Regions from separate parts of the Homo sapiens genome. Here region 2 is linked to region 1. The links are contacts of gene promoters, found by promoter capture Hi-C in human tissues and cell types (Jung and others, 2019). All regions are on one chromosome and are shown on one strand. The core of a region is centred on a gene start or on the middle of the fragment in contact, and the rest is flanking DNA. Distances in the headings are between cores, read along the strand shown.

The links. Contacts are between HindIII fragments. The study calls those that stand out against the background at their distance.
Region 2: a contact is called between a fragment that was not itself captured here and the fragment with the promoter of FA2H in region 1, in 1 of the 25 tissues and cell types used here (IMR-90 fibroblasts).

What each region holds. Positions count from the first base shown.
Region 1 is chr16:74,772,434-74,779,234 of GRCh38, reverse strand. FA2H (fatty acid 2-hydroxylase) reads left to right here and starts at 4,415. Exons shown (of 7, transcript NM_024306.5): 1 at 4,415-4,749. The coding sequence starts at 4,480. RefSeq lists silencers at 4,109-4,168, 4,179-4,308, 4,319-4,688, 4,729-4,778. The HindIII fragment of the contact is 21,235 bases long and covers 1-6,801 here.
Region 2 is chr16:74,805,102-74,811,902 of GRCh38, reverse strand. No RefSeq gene overlaps it. Among named protein-coding and RNA genes, the nearest start is that of FA2H, 34 kb to the right of the region's middle. The HindIII fragment of the contact is 7,167 bases long and covers 1-6,069 here.

The DNA.
Region 1 (6,801 bases), core at 3,166-5,665:
CCTCATTTTTTCTAATGGCTACATAGTATTTCACTGTCTGAATATACCATAGTTTATTTAATCAGTCCTCCCTCATGATGAACATTTGATCATTTCTAGTCTATAAATGAGGTTGCAATTAATGTTATTGTTCATGCATCTTGATATAGTATATCTGTAAGATTAAATTTCTAGAAGTGGAAATAACTAGGGCAAGAACTGTGAGTGTTACAATTCTGAACAGATGGCCAAATCATTTGTTCAACTGTAAACACTGGGAGTTCACAGCCATGGTGAGAAATCCAAATGGGAGTGCCCACAGATACTGTCAGCAAGAAGTGCCTGAGTACACCTGCGACTGTGCGCTTGGCTGCTTTGGCACATGAACGGGATTTGCAGCAGAGTAGGTGTGGAAGTTGGGTAAAGGTGACTACTTATGCATTCACCGCTTGAGAAAAGCAACAACTCTGTTGATGTGAGGCCTCTAGGCCTGACGGACAGGTGCTCCATAGACCCACAGACAGCAAAACTCTCGCCTACTCCCTGAGGGTCAGTCCGAAGAGAAGGGAGAGGGAAGAGGGGCGGCTCTTCTGACCTGGGGACCCCTGAGGCATCTGGGCCAGGCTTCCCATACTTGAACTGGCCCAGCACAGATGCCTGGCCCCAGAAGGGCACAAATGGAGATGATCCTTAAAATATCTTTCCTGAAAGAGACAAAGCCAGCTGGATGGGTTAGCCTCTGTACCAGGAGCATTTGATTACAAATCATGAGTTCAAGTGGGATCCCCTGTGGCTGAGCAAGTAAAGCTGGGTGTGGCTTTTCTGCTTTTTGTTTTCTGTTTAAGAGATGGAGCTCACTCTGTTGCCCAGGCTGGAGTGCAGTGGTGCAGTCATAGGATACTGCAGCCTCAAACTCCTGGACTCAAGAGATCCTTTGGCCTCAGCCTCCCCAGTAGCTGGGACGATAAGCCTGCATCACTACAACTGGCTAATTTTTTAAATTATTTATTTATCCAATTATTTTTGAGATGGAGCCTCGCTCTGTCACACAGGCTGGAGTGCAGTGGTGCAATCTCCACTCACTGCAACATCTGACGCCTGGGTTCAAGCGATTCTCCAGCCTCAGTCTTCTAAGTAGCTGGGACTACAGGGGCATGCCACTGCGCCCGACTAATTTTCTTGTATTTTTAGTAGAGACAGGGTTTCACCATGTTCGCCAGGCTGGTCTCAAACTCCTGACCTCAGGGGATCTGCCTGCCTTGGCCTCCCAAAGTGCTAGGATTACAGGTGTGAGCCACCGCACCTGGCCTCAATTTTTTTTTTTTTTTTTTTTGAGACAGAGTTTCGCTCTTGTTGCCCAGGCTGGAGTGCAATGGCACAATCTCACTGCAACCTCTGCCTCCCGGGTTCAAATGATTCTCCTGCCTCAGCCTTCCTGAGTAGCTGAGATTACAGGCAGGCACCACCATGCCTGGCTAATTTTTTATTTTTAGTAGAGATAGAGTTTCTCCATGTTGGTCAGGCTGGTCTCAAACTCCCGACCTCAGGTGATCCGCCCACCTCGGCCTCCCAAAGTGCTGGGACTACAGGCATGAGCCACCGCGCCCGGCCTGGCCTCAATTTAAAAAAAAAATTTTTTTGTAGAGACGAGGTATTGCTTTGTTGCCCAGGCTGGTCTTGAACTCCTGGGCTCAAGCGATCCTCCTGCCTTGGCCTCCCAAAGGGTTGGGATTACAGGCATGAGCCACCATGTCCAACCAAGTTTTTCCTGTTCTAAACAAAACTGTGATGAACAAATTCAGTCCTCCTTTCCACACAGCATCACCCCCAGCCTTTACTCCTGTAGGCCCCTACTTCCCCTTCTGTAATGGAGACAGTGTTCTCTGTTCTCCCCTCAGGTCCTTCCCCAGGGCCCAGGATTAGAGTGAGGGAGTGAGGCACTAACCCTGAGAGCAAAATCTACAGGCATGCCAAAAAACAAACAAAAAAAAGTAACCAAGATAAATAATATTTTAATGCAGTATTGTAAAACTTCAAGATTAATGCAAAAAAATCCATGATGGACAAAATATCAAAATTTTAAATAAAAACAGGAGCTAACCCTGCACTTTCACATCCCTGTCTCAGGAATCCCTGGCCCTGGTTCCAATAAAACTTTATTTACAAAAACAGGTGGCCAATGCCACGCCCCCAACCCCACCCCTCACCCCTGTCTTTTGACAATGTGATTTTTTAAAACATTCTTAAATATTTTGTATTGCGGTAAAATATACATAATATAAATTTACCATTCCAACCATTTTCAGTGTACAGTTCAGTGGCATTAAGAACATTCACATTGTGCAACAAAATAATTTTTTTTTTGAGACAGAGTCTCTCTTTCTCGCCAGGCTGGAGTGTGGTGGGGCGTTCTCGGCTCACTGCAACCTCCAACTCCCAGATTCAAGCGATTCCCCTGCCTCAGCCTCCCAAGTAGCTAGGACTACAGATGCGTGCCTCCACAGCCAGCTAATTTTTGTATTTTTAGTAGAGATGGGGTTTCACTATGTTGGCCAAGATGGTCTCGATCTCTTGACCTCGTGATTCGCCCACCTCGGCCTCCCAAAGTGCTGGGATTACAGGTGTGAGTTACCGCACCCAGCCAACAATATAATTTTTTAAATATTACGTTCAGGTATTAGATATAGTGATGACTGAGTTTTGGGGTGCCCCATTAAATTTTGCCCTCGAACATTATTAAAAAGTCAAGAAACAGTAGATGTCTGCGTGTATGTAGTGAAAGGGGGATGCTTATGCTATGCACTGCTGGTGGGAATGTAAATTAGTACAACTTGTTTGGAAAACAGTACAGAGATTCTTTAACAAACTAAAAGTACACTTTGGGGCTGGGCGCGGTGGCTCACGCCTGTAATCCCAGCATTTTGGGAGGCTGCGGCGGGAGGATCACTAGAGGCCAGGAGTTCGAGACCAACCTGGCCAACATGGTGAAACCCCGTCTCTACTAAAAATACAAAAAAATTAGCCGGGCGTGGTGGCACGCGCCTATAGTCATAGCTACTCTGGAGGCTGAGGCAGGAGAATCGCTTGAACCCGGGAGGCGGAGGTAGCAGTGAGCTGAGATTGTGCCACTGCACTTCAGCCTGGGCAACAGAGTGAGACTCTGTCTCAAAAAAAAAAAAAAAAAGTGCACTATGGGAGGCCATGGCAGGCAAATCGCTTGAGCCCAGGAGTTTGAGACCATCCTGGGCAGCATGGTGAAACCTCGTCTCTACAAAAAATACAAAAATTAGCCAGGCGTAGTGGTGCATGCCTGTAGTGCCAGCTACTTGGGAGGCTGAGGTAAGAGGATTGCTTGAGCCCGGGAGGTCGAGGCTGCAGTGAACCAAGATCGCACCACTACTCTCCAGCCTGGGTGACAGAGTGAGACCTTGTCACGGGAAGGGAAGGGAAAGGAAGGGAAGGGGAGGGGAGGGGAGGGGAGGAGAGAAAAAGTAGATTCACCATTCGGTCCAGCAATCCCACCACTGGGTATCTACCCAAAGGAAAAGAGTCATTATATGAAAAAGACACTTGCACACGAATGTTTGTTTTTTGCAGCCCAATTCACAATCGAAAAGATATGGAACCAACTTAAATAACCATCAACCAATGAGTGGATAAAGAAAATGTAGTTGATATACACGATAGAATACTACTCAGCCATAAAAAGGAACGAAATGAAGTCTTTTGCAGCAACTTGCATGGAGCTGGAGGCCATTATTCTAAGTGAAAGTGATTCAGGAATGGAAAACCAAACACTGTATGTTCTCACTCATAAGTAGGAACTAAGCTATGAGGACGCAAAGGCATACAGAGTGATATAATGGACAATAGGGAGAATGGGAGGGGGTGTAACACACACACACACACAAAACCCTACACATTGGGTATAATGTACACTACTCGGGGGACAGGTGGACTAAAATCTCAGGACTTACCACTATACAATTCCTCCATGTAACCAAAAACCACTGGTACCCCAAAAGCTACTGAAATTTTAAAAACAAACAAATATTTGCACCCGAGGCGAGCACCTCATTCGCCTCTCGCTCTCTCGGGCACCTCCTGGAGCCAGAGGGTCCCATGCGGCCAGCTCCTCCGTGGAAGCAGTTGAAGTTATTCCAGCAGCGATCAGGCCACCGAGGATGTCCGCCCAGACAACCACCCGCGACGGGGAGACTCGCTCCGCCTGTGTCCGCCCACCCTCCTCCCGCGCGGGACACACCTGGCGGGCGCGGCACTCCCTGTCCGCGGCCACCTGGCGCGCAGCTCCCGGCGCCGGGCCCGCCCCTCGCGGCTCTGCCGGGGCTCCCGGCCGGCCAATGGGAGCGCGGTATGCAAATGAGCAGGTGCGGTGGCGGCCCGCCCGGAACGGCCGCGGGGCTCCCGGGATGTTAGAGGCGCTCAGGGTGGCAGCAGAGCAGACGCCGGGCTGCGCGCTGGGAGCTGCGGTCTCCGGCCATGGCCCCCGCTCCGCCCCCCGCCGCCTCCTTCTCGCCCTCCGAGGTCCAGCGGCGCCTGGCGGCCGGCGCGTGCTGGGTCCGCCGCGGGGCCCGCCTCTACGACCTCTCCAGCTTCGTGCGGCACCACCCGGGGGGCGAGCAGCTGCTGCGGGCCAGGGCGGGCCAGGACATCAGCGCCGACCTGGACGGGCCGCCGCACAGGCACTCGGCCAACGCGCGCCGCTGGCTGGAGCAGTACTACGTGGGAGAGCTCCGCGGGGAGCAGCAGGTACAGCCGGGCCGGGGCCCCCCACCCCAACCCAGGCCTCCGTCAGCCTTCCACTCCCGGGCGAGCCCCGTTCACTTGCCCTCTAGCAGGACCCAAGGTGACAGCTTCTGCCCTCCCTTCCCTCGCTTTCCCTCTCTTCTCTCCAGGCAACAGGTCACTGTCGTCCCCTCCAACCCCTCCTTCCTCTCTCCAGGAACTTGCTCTTCCTTTCCACCCTTACCGCCTGGCCCGCCTCCGTGCCAGCTCTCCCATTTCCCCAGCACCCCTCCTTCCAGCGTGTTCCTTCTGCAGCCCCTGCCCTCCGACAACCTGGATTCCCGTTTCTGTCCCCAGCCCCCCATACGCCTCGGCTTTCCTTCCTCTTCACTTATCGGCCTCTCCCTCTTTGCAACCACTCTCCGTTTCTGTTTGGATAATGGGCTCAACCTGTTCCCACCTCCCCATCCCACCTCACTTCTGCTTCAAAGAGGCACAGATCAGTAACTCTTCTCACTAGCTTGGGTTTCCTGGTGCCGCCCTGGCCTTGCCTGGGCCATGTCTGGGGTGGACTGTGTCCTCCAACCTCTCAGACCTTCCCTTATATTCTTGTCCTACACGCTGGCTTGGGACTCCAAAAGAGTGAAATGAAAGGCATGAGCCAGTTTTGCCAAGGAAAAGGGACCAGCACTTTGGACCAGACTGTGTGCTGAGCTGCACGCTTCTGTGCAGTACCAGCTCCCGATGGTATTTAAGTCCTTAACTCAACCTGGGGCAGGTTTTGTTATTCCCATTTCAGGATATGGAATCTGAGGCTCAGGGAGGCTCTGATTAATGCGCCTAAGGTCAAATAGCTAAATAGTGGGAAAGCCACATGTATCTGACTCCAAAATCAATGCTGGCTCCATCCCAAAAGTCTTCGGGTGGAGGAGACAGACCTAGTCCACAGGATTCCAGGTAGGCTCAGGCCAGAGGCAAAGCGACTCTCTTGATGTTCCCCAGGCCTGGCTCTGGGACTGGTATGGGGCCATCATGCTTAGATATACAGTAGTTCCCCCTTGTCCAAGGGGATACATTTCAAGACCCTCAGTGGATCCTTAAAACCACAGATAGTACCGAATCCTATATATGCTATGTTTTTTCCCATATATGCATATCTATGATAAAGTTAAATTTATAAATTAAGAACAATAGGAAGAGATTAACAACAACAATAATAGAATAGTTACAACAATATACTGTAATAAGAGCTATTTGTATGTGGTCCCTTTCTCTCAAAACATCTTATAGTACTGTACTCACTCTTCTTGTGATAATGTAAGATGATAACATGAGGCCAGGCAAAGTGGCTGACATCTGTAATCCTAGCACTTTGGGAGGCCGAGGTAAGAGGATCGCTCGAGCCCAGGAGTTCAAGACCAGCCTGGGCAACATAGGGAGACCTTGTGTCTACAAAAAATACCAAAATTAGCCGGGTGTGGTGGCATGTGGCTATAATTCTAGCTACTTGGGAGGCTAAGGTGGGAGGATCACCTGAGAGGTGGAGGCTGCAGTGAGCCATGATCATGCCACTGCACTCCAGCCTGAGCAACAGAGTGAGAGCTCACCTCAAAAAAAAAAAGATAATAAGATGCCTACATGATGGGTTGGAGTGAGGTGAATGACAGGTGTGGTGATGTGGCATTGGCTACTATTGAAAAGTAATTTAAAACTTATAAATTATTTCTGGAATTTTCCATTTAATTATGTTTTTGGACCCAGGTTGACCGTGGGTTACTGAAACCATGGAAAGTGAAACCGTGGATAAGGGGGACTCCTGAAAACCAACAATTGTCCCCTGCTTCTAACTCTTGCTTTCAAGATGAGCCCAGCAACTACTCTTAGATCTTTGGTTGAAAGGACTTAGCACCCACTGTTTCAGGTGGCTTTTCATTGGGTCATCCTGCCTAATTTCTCCATCATTTATTCAGTCATGGAACTGGTTCCTTAATGGGTTGACAGCACTGTGCTGGGTGTGGGGAGATATCAATGAACAAAACGAATTCGGTTCCTGTCTTCATGGAGCTAATGGGATAA
Region 2 (6,801 bases), core at 1,237-3,736, 35 kb before region 1:
CTACAGAACACTTCACACATAAGAACTTTGTACAAACCTCTGCACTAAATAATGCAGAGCACCTAAATGAAATACTAGTATGGCTTCTAACAGCATAATGCTGTGTCCCTAGGATGTTACTAGAGATAAAGAAGGACATTTTGTAATATGAGATGGGTCAATCCACAGTCTACACACATGTCAAAACATATTGTACACTATGAATCCCAAATATCTGAGATAGGTCTCAGTTAATTTGGGAAGTTTATTTTGCCAAGGTTGAGGACATGTTCCCATGACACAGCCTCAAGAGATCCTGACATGTGCCCAAGGTGATCAGGGCACAGCTTGGTTTTATACATTTTAGGGAGACATGAGACATCAATCAGTATATGTAAGATAAACATTAGTTCTTCCCAAAAAGGCAGGACAACTCAAAGCAGGGAGGGGGCTTCCAGGTCACAGGTAGGTGAGAGACAAATGGTTGCATTCTTTTGAGTTTCTGATTAGCCTCTCCAAAGGAGGCATTCAGGTATGCATTTATCTCAGTGAGCAGAGGGGTGACTTTGAATAGAGCGGGAGGCAGGTTTGCCCTAAGTAGTTCCCAGCTTGACTTTTCCCTTTAGCTTAGTGATTTTGGGGTCATAAGATTTATTTTCCTTTCACATTTCCCCCCTTTTGTTTCTAAAATCTTTTGGAGAAAGCATTATCGGAAGAAAATGAGTCCCTGGTCTCAGGTTTCATCTGCTGTCTCACAGCTAAGACAGTTTATTCCTAGACAGATAAGTTCCAAGTTATTAGGAAAGCTCATTTTTAGCAGGTTCTGAAGTCTTATGTCCTATGAAGAGAAAATAGGAGAAAGAAGGGAGAAAAACAACAACAAACAAAAGAACAATCCTGCAAAACTGATATAGACCACCTTACTCTGTAGTCCATACATCAGTAGGCAGGTATAAAAGTGGCTTATGTATGTAAAAGGTTGCTGTTATTTTCTTTTGAAGTTTAAGTTGTCTAGTTTCAGTTTGCAGGGCTTTAAGAAAGCATAGCTTAGTTTTCAGTGATTTCAAATTAGGAAAAATGTAGGGAAAAGGAAAAGAAAGAAAAAAATGAAAACATTATTTTGGAGACTTGTAGCCAGGAAAAGTTAGAATTCAGTCCAGTCTGTAGAAAATAATAAAAACAGAAAAACATTAGGCAAGACTAGAATCTAACAACAGGTGTACTTTAGTTTTTGAAACAATTTTTCTCTCTCCAGTTTCCCATTTTTACTAAAAATCATGACAAATCATGGTAGGACCAATTTGCTTTATTATACTTGGCCAAATTATTTGTATAAAGTGCAGCTAGAATAATTATTCTTCACATAGGCTTTTTAAATTGGCTTTGATGGAACTTTGTTCCATAGAAGGAATCTCAGATATGACTTTTTTAAAGCCAAGCCCAGCCATGGATTTGTACCATCAAATACCTATGAGTTGGGTGAATTCCTCTCCCCTTGAGGTCTCAAGATAACTTGGGGTTCCCAGGCCAGTCAGAAAGTGACATTCATTTCTTATCACAGGTCAAGAACCGTGTACAGGGACTGTGTAGATAAGGTATGAGGCCAGTTTTCCCAAGGGGCTTTTATTGGCTCTAAAAGACAACTTTGATTCCTTAAAGGAAAGTAAACCATTCCAGTCAAAACTTGGTAAAATAACCAGTTGCTCCAGTCATGTCCTGTTACAAATGAAAACAGATTCTTATTGCACTTATGCAAATAACTATATAGCCGTAAGTTAAGAATACTTAAAATAGTTTCCAAATTCTGGAGAAATCAGGTGGAGAGAAACAAATATACTCCAAATTTTGTTGGTAGGAGTATACTTAGTTGTTAAAAGCTGTCAATAGCACAAAAGAAAAGTTTCCTTGACTCTGAAAATTGAAAGATCAGTAACATTTTAAGCAAAAAGTCAAAAAGATTACTTCAGTCATCTATTATTTCAGTCTTTGTAGTTAATTCCTGTTCTGCTTGAAATTCATGAACATTTCAGCTCTCCATGAGTCCTGAAAGTTTTTCCTCTATTCTGATGTCACCATCTCCAAAATTATCAGAAACCTCCATTCAGGAGCCCCTATTAGAGTTTTATAGTAGATTATAAAACCACCTTCTAAAGAGAACCAAAACAAGACAACAATTGTCCATGGATGACAAAATGTTTTAGGGCAGCTATAGTCAAAGACACAATTGACAAGGAAATCTGTTACCTCTGTGGCACACAAAAATTTAACATAACAATTATTATTATTACTACTAACTATGTACACTAAGTCATATCAGAATTATAGGAGTTCCCATAATTTTGGAACACATACCAATAACATATTTATACAAATATAGCCCAAAGAAAACCAAACCATTTCATGTTTGACAATGCTTCCTGTATAATTTTTATACCAAATAGGCCAAATATGTCATTTTTGGGCTTTAGGGAACCTAATATCTAAAAAGATTAATTAGGTCATAAAAAGACGTGTAATTTTATTTTGAAAAGTTTGTCAAATATCAAAGGTTTAAAACACTTGATATCACAAAATAGGATCACAGTTCATTGTAAAATAAGTGATTCATTTAACCAAAGTGATAACTCAAGGGTTTTCTAAAAAGGTGACAACCTTCATTCTTTGAGAGAGGAGACTTAATTTTCCAAACAATAAGCCCTAATAAAAATAGCATGAAGCCAATTAAATTTGTTTTTCAAAATTTTTAAACAATCTCTAAAATGTTAATTTTGACCATAACATATAACTTCCATAAGTCTTTTTATAGCCTTTATAACCTTTAATAAGGAGTTGGTTAATACTTCAAGAAAACCTTGTTAATCTGACACAGGGCCTCATGTGCTGGTCTTGCATCAGTATGCCTTTGACATTAATGGTTAATTTATAGAGAAACTGAACTTCCTTTATCTCTCAAAATTGGCCCTTACAATCTCATGCACCTGCCTCTTCTGTGATACTCCCTGGACCTTGAGGAGTTGAATAGCTTTAATTTCTGGCCCTGTGTCTTAGGAATGCAGTTTATTTTGATTGGCATCTTCTATCAGACCTGAATACGAAGCTTTAATTGCTGTCAGTGTTTAAGAGTTAGCAGGATTTGGTGTCCTTTTTAGACCCAGGAGTCAAAGCCCAGCAACTCAATGTTACAAGGACTTTAAAAGCACATACAGAAAAATACATGGAGGTAATAACCTTAATTGAAAAAAATTTTTGATCTGTTTTTTCTAAGCAAACCAAAACTTAATAATAATGGGATAAGAATTATTTGATAAGACATGAAATCTGTTAGGCCAGTTATCAAAAGGCCAAAGAAAAGACCTTCTGCAGTGCACAGAATATTATGTTGGAAGAAAACATTTCCTTTAGGCCTTGTTATGTAAATAAAGAAAGCCTTAAGTAGTCAAAATTAAAAAATCTTTCCCTTTTTTCCCCTTTTGCTGGCCACTTTTCTCCCCCCACCACACCACCTTTTATTGTGGGTGGGGGAATTTAGCCACTTCAAAGGCCTTGTTCCCCATAATTTGGAACTTTCCTTCAGATATGATCAAGTTGGATAGAGTTGGTCAAACCTGATAGGAAAAAGACTGAAACAACAACAAAAGAAACAAAAAAACAAACAAACAACAGAAAAAGTTAAGCGAAACAAACGATTGCACAACTTACATGATTGCTGAGCGCTCTAATGGTAAGGAGAAATTAAGACCAGCTGGTTGTTAATTTTAACTTTAGCCAAGGCAAACCCCAATTCAGTTATTTACGTAGGGATGGGTCTCAGGCCAAAGCCTGCTCTCTACCATCCTAGAAGCAGGAAAAACTCAAACTCGTCTTCCCTGTTGGGAGCGAGTTCAAACTCCATAAAGGAATTACCTGCCGTCCATTGTCATGGAAACAGGAAAAACTTGCCTTCCTTGTGTTAAAAGCAAGTAAAACTCCAAAAAAAAAAAAAAAAAAAAAAGGAGTTGTACAGAAAAATAAAGTTTAGATCTTGACCAAATTTTGGGAGATCAGGGATTCTCTGGAGGAGGTGCTTCTAAGTGGCTGCAGGAGGGAGGCTGGCTGGGGCTGCACACTCCATGGAGCCCATGGGAACCCCGCTCCTTCTGAGTTGGGGCAGGAGCTCCTTGGGTGCCGCTGCAGCCACCCAAACTGCAGACCTAGGCCTTCCTGTTCTATGGATCAGGAAGGAGGCCCACCCTCCTGTGCTCCCTGCTGTCTTGGCGGGTGTTTACTCCCATTGCCTGGCCTCTCTCCTCTCCTGGGGAGGGCACTGGTCTTGGAGCAGGGTTGGAGCAGAGCCCTGGGGCCTTGAATGGCAGCGGGAGGCAGAGTCCTGGGCAGAAGCAGGCGGATCCCCAGTAAGGTCCCACCTTCAGACCAGGGAGGGCCTGACAGCTGGGGGCAGGCTGCCAGTCACACAGACCAGAGTAGGGACTTGAAGCGCCTCCTCTGGGCCTGCCCATGGCTGCGCATCCACCAATTGGCATGCATTTCCTCCCCGCTCAGGTCCATAAAAGCCCTGGGCTCGGCCACAGCAGGGCAAAGACCAGAGGACAGAGAGAGGAAGGGGATAACTACCTGCAGAGAGGAGCTATCCTCTTTGCTGAGAGCTTCAGAGGCCTGCAGAGACATCTGAACAACCTGCCTACAAAGAGGAGCCACCCTCTTCAGAGCCTCCTCTCTGCTGAGAACAGCAGACAGCAGGATGACCAGTGGGCAGAGAAGAGCTACCCCCTCCAGGGCCTCCTCTTTGCTGACAGCTGAACACTCCATGGGATGACCTGCCTACAGAGAGGAGCTACCCACTTCCGGTCTCTTCTGAGCCATTCTAACACTAAATAAAATTCTTCTTCATCTTCATCACCATTCACTTCTCTGCATACCTCATTCTTCCTGGATGCAGGACAAAAACTCGGGCAAAAGCGTCACCAGCCACAGAGGTTTCTGGAAAGAAAAATCAACACCCCAAAGATCTCATAACACTTCCAGGCCTCAGCAAATTGTCCTATTGGTTTGAGCCATAAAGATAGCTCAAGCTGATACCAAGCACCAATAGGAGATTTGTCAAAGGTCAGGGGCATCTCCACTCAGAATTCCTTTGTGGTTACCATAAATGTTAACCCCAAATATCTGAGACAGGTCTTAGTTAATTTAAAAAGTTTATTTTGCCAAGGTTGAGAACATGTGCCCATGGCACAGCCTCAGGAGGTCCTGACATGTGGCTAAGGTGGTTGGGGCATAGCTTGGTTTTATATATTTTAGGGAGACATGAGACCTCAATCAATATATATAAAATGCACATTGGTTCCATCCAGAAAGGCAGGGCAACTCGAAGCAGGGAGGGGACTTCCAGGTCACAGGTAGGTGAGAGACAAACAGTTGCATTCTTTTGAGTTTCTGATTAGCCTCTCGAAAGGAGGCAATCAGATATGCATTTATCTCAGTGAGCAGACGGATGATTTGAATACAATGGGAGGCAAGTTTGCCCTAAGCAGTTCCCAGCTTGACTTTTCCCTTTAGTTTAGTGATTTGGGGGCCCCAAGATTTATTTTCCTTTCATAGCACCATACATATATACAATTTTTATTTGTCAATTAAAAATCAGTCAATCCATCAGGAAGGCCTAACATTTATATATTCCATGTTCATTGCAGCATTATTCACAATAGCAAAGATATGGAATCAACCTAATTGTCCATCAACAGATAAATGGATAATGAAAATGTGGTACTTATACATATTGGAATACTATTCAGCCTTAAAAAGAAGGAAATATTGTCATTTGTAACAACATGGATGAATTTGGAGGACACTATGAAAAGTCCAATGAAATAGGACTTATTTCATTGAAATAAGCCAGGCACAGAAAGACAAACACTAAACGATCTCACTTATATGTGGAATCTAAAAAAGTTGAGCTCATAGAATTAAGAGTAGAATGACTGTTACCAAGTGCTAGGGTAGGGGAACAGTTGGGGAAATGTTAGTCAAAGGGTATACAATTACAGTTCAATAGAAGAAATAAATTCAAGAGCTCTGTTGTACAACATGGTGATTATGGTTAACAACAATGTATTGTATCCTTTAAAATTGCTGAGAGAGTAGATTTTAATGTTCTCACCACAAAAATAAGTATGTGAGTAATACATATGTTAATTAGCTTGACTCAGTGATTCAATAATGTATACATATTTCAAAACATGTTGTACATGATAAATATATACAATTTTATTAGTCAGTCAAATAAATATGCACCTAATAAGAGAGGTCCAAAACATATAAAGCAAAAACTTTAAAAAATTAAAGAGATAAGTAGATAATTCGACAATAATAGTTGGAGCCTTCAATGCCTCACTTTCAACAAAAGATATAACAACTAGGCAGATCAACAAGAAAACAGAAGGCTTGAATAATACTATAAACCAACTAGACCTGACGCATACCTGGAACACTCCACTTAACAACAGCAGAATATACATTCGTCTCAAGTACACATGGGACATTCTCCAGTACAGATCATATGTTAGGTCATAAAAAGAATTTCAGTAATTTCTCAAAGGATTGAAATTATACAAAGTATGTTCTCTAATCACAATGGAGTAAAATTAGAAATTAACAGTGCAGTGGATCACATCTGTAATCCCAGCACTTTGGGAGGCTGAGGTGGGAGGACCACTTGAGCCCAGGAGTTCAAGATTAGCCAGGGCAACATAGTGAGACCCCATCTCTACAAAAATTTTAAAAATTAGCCTGGGGTGGTGGCATGTGCTTGTAGTCCCAGCAACTCAG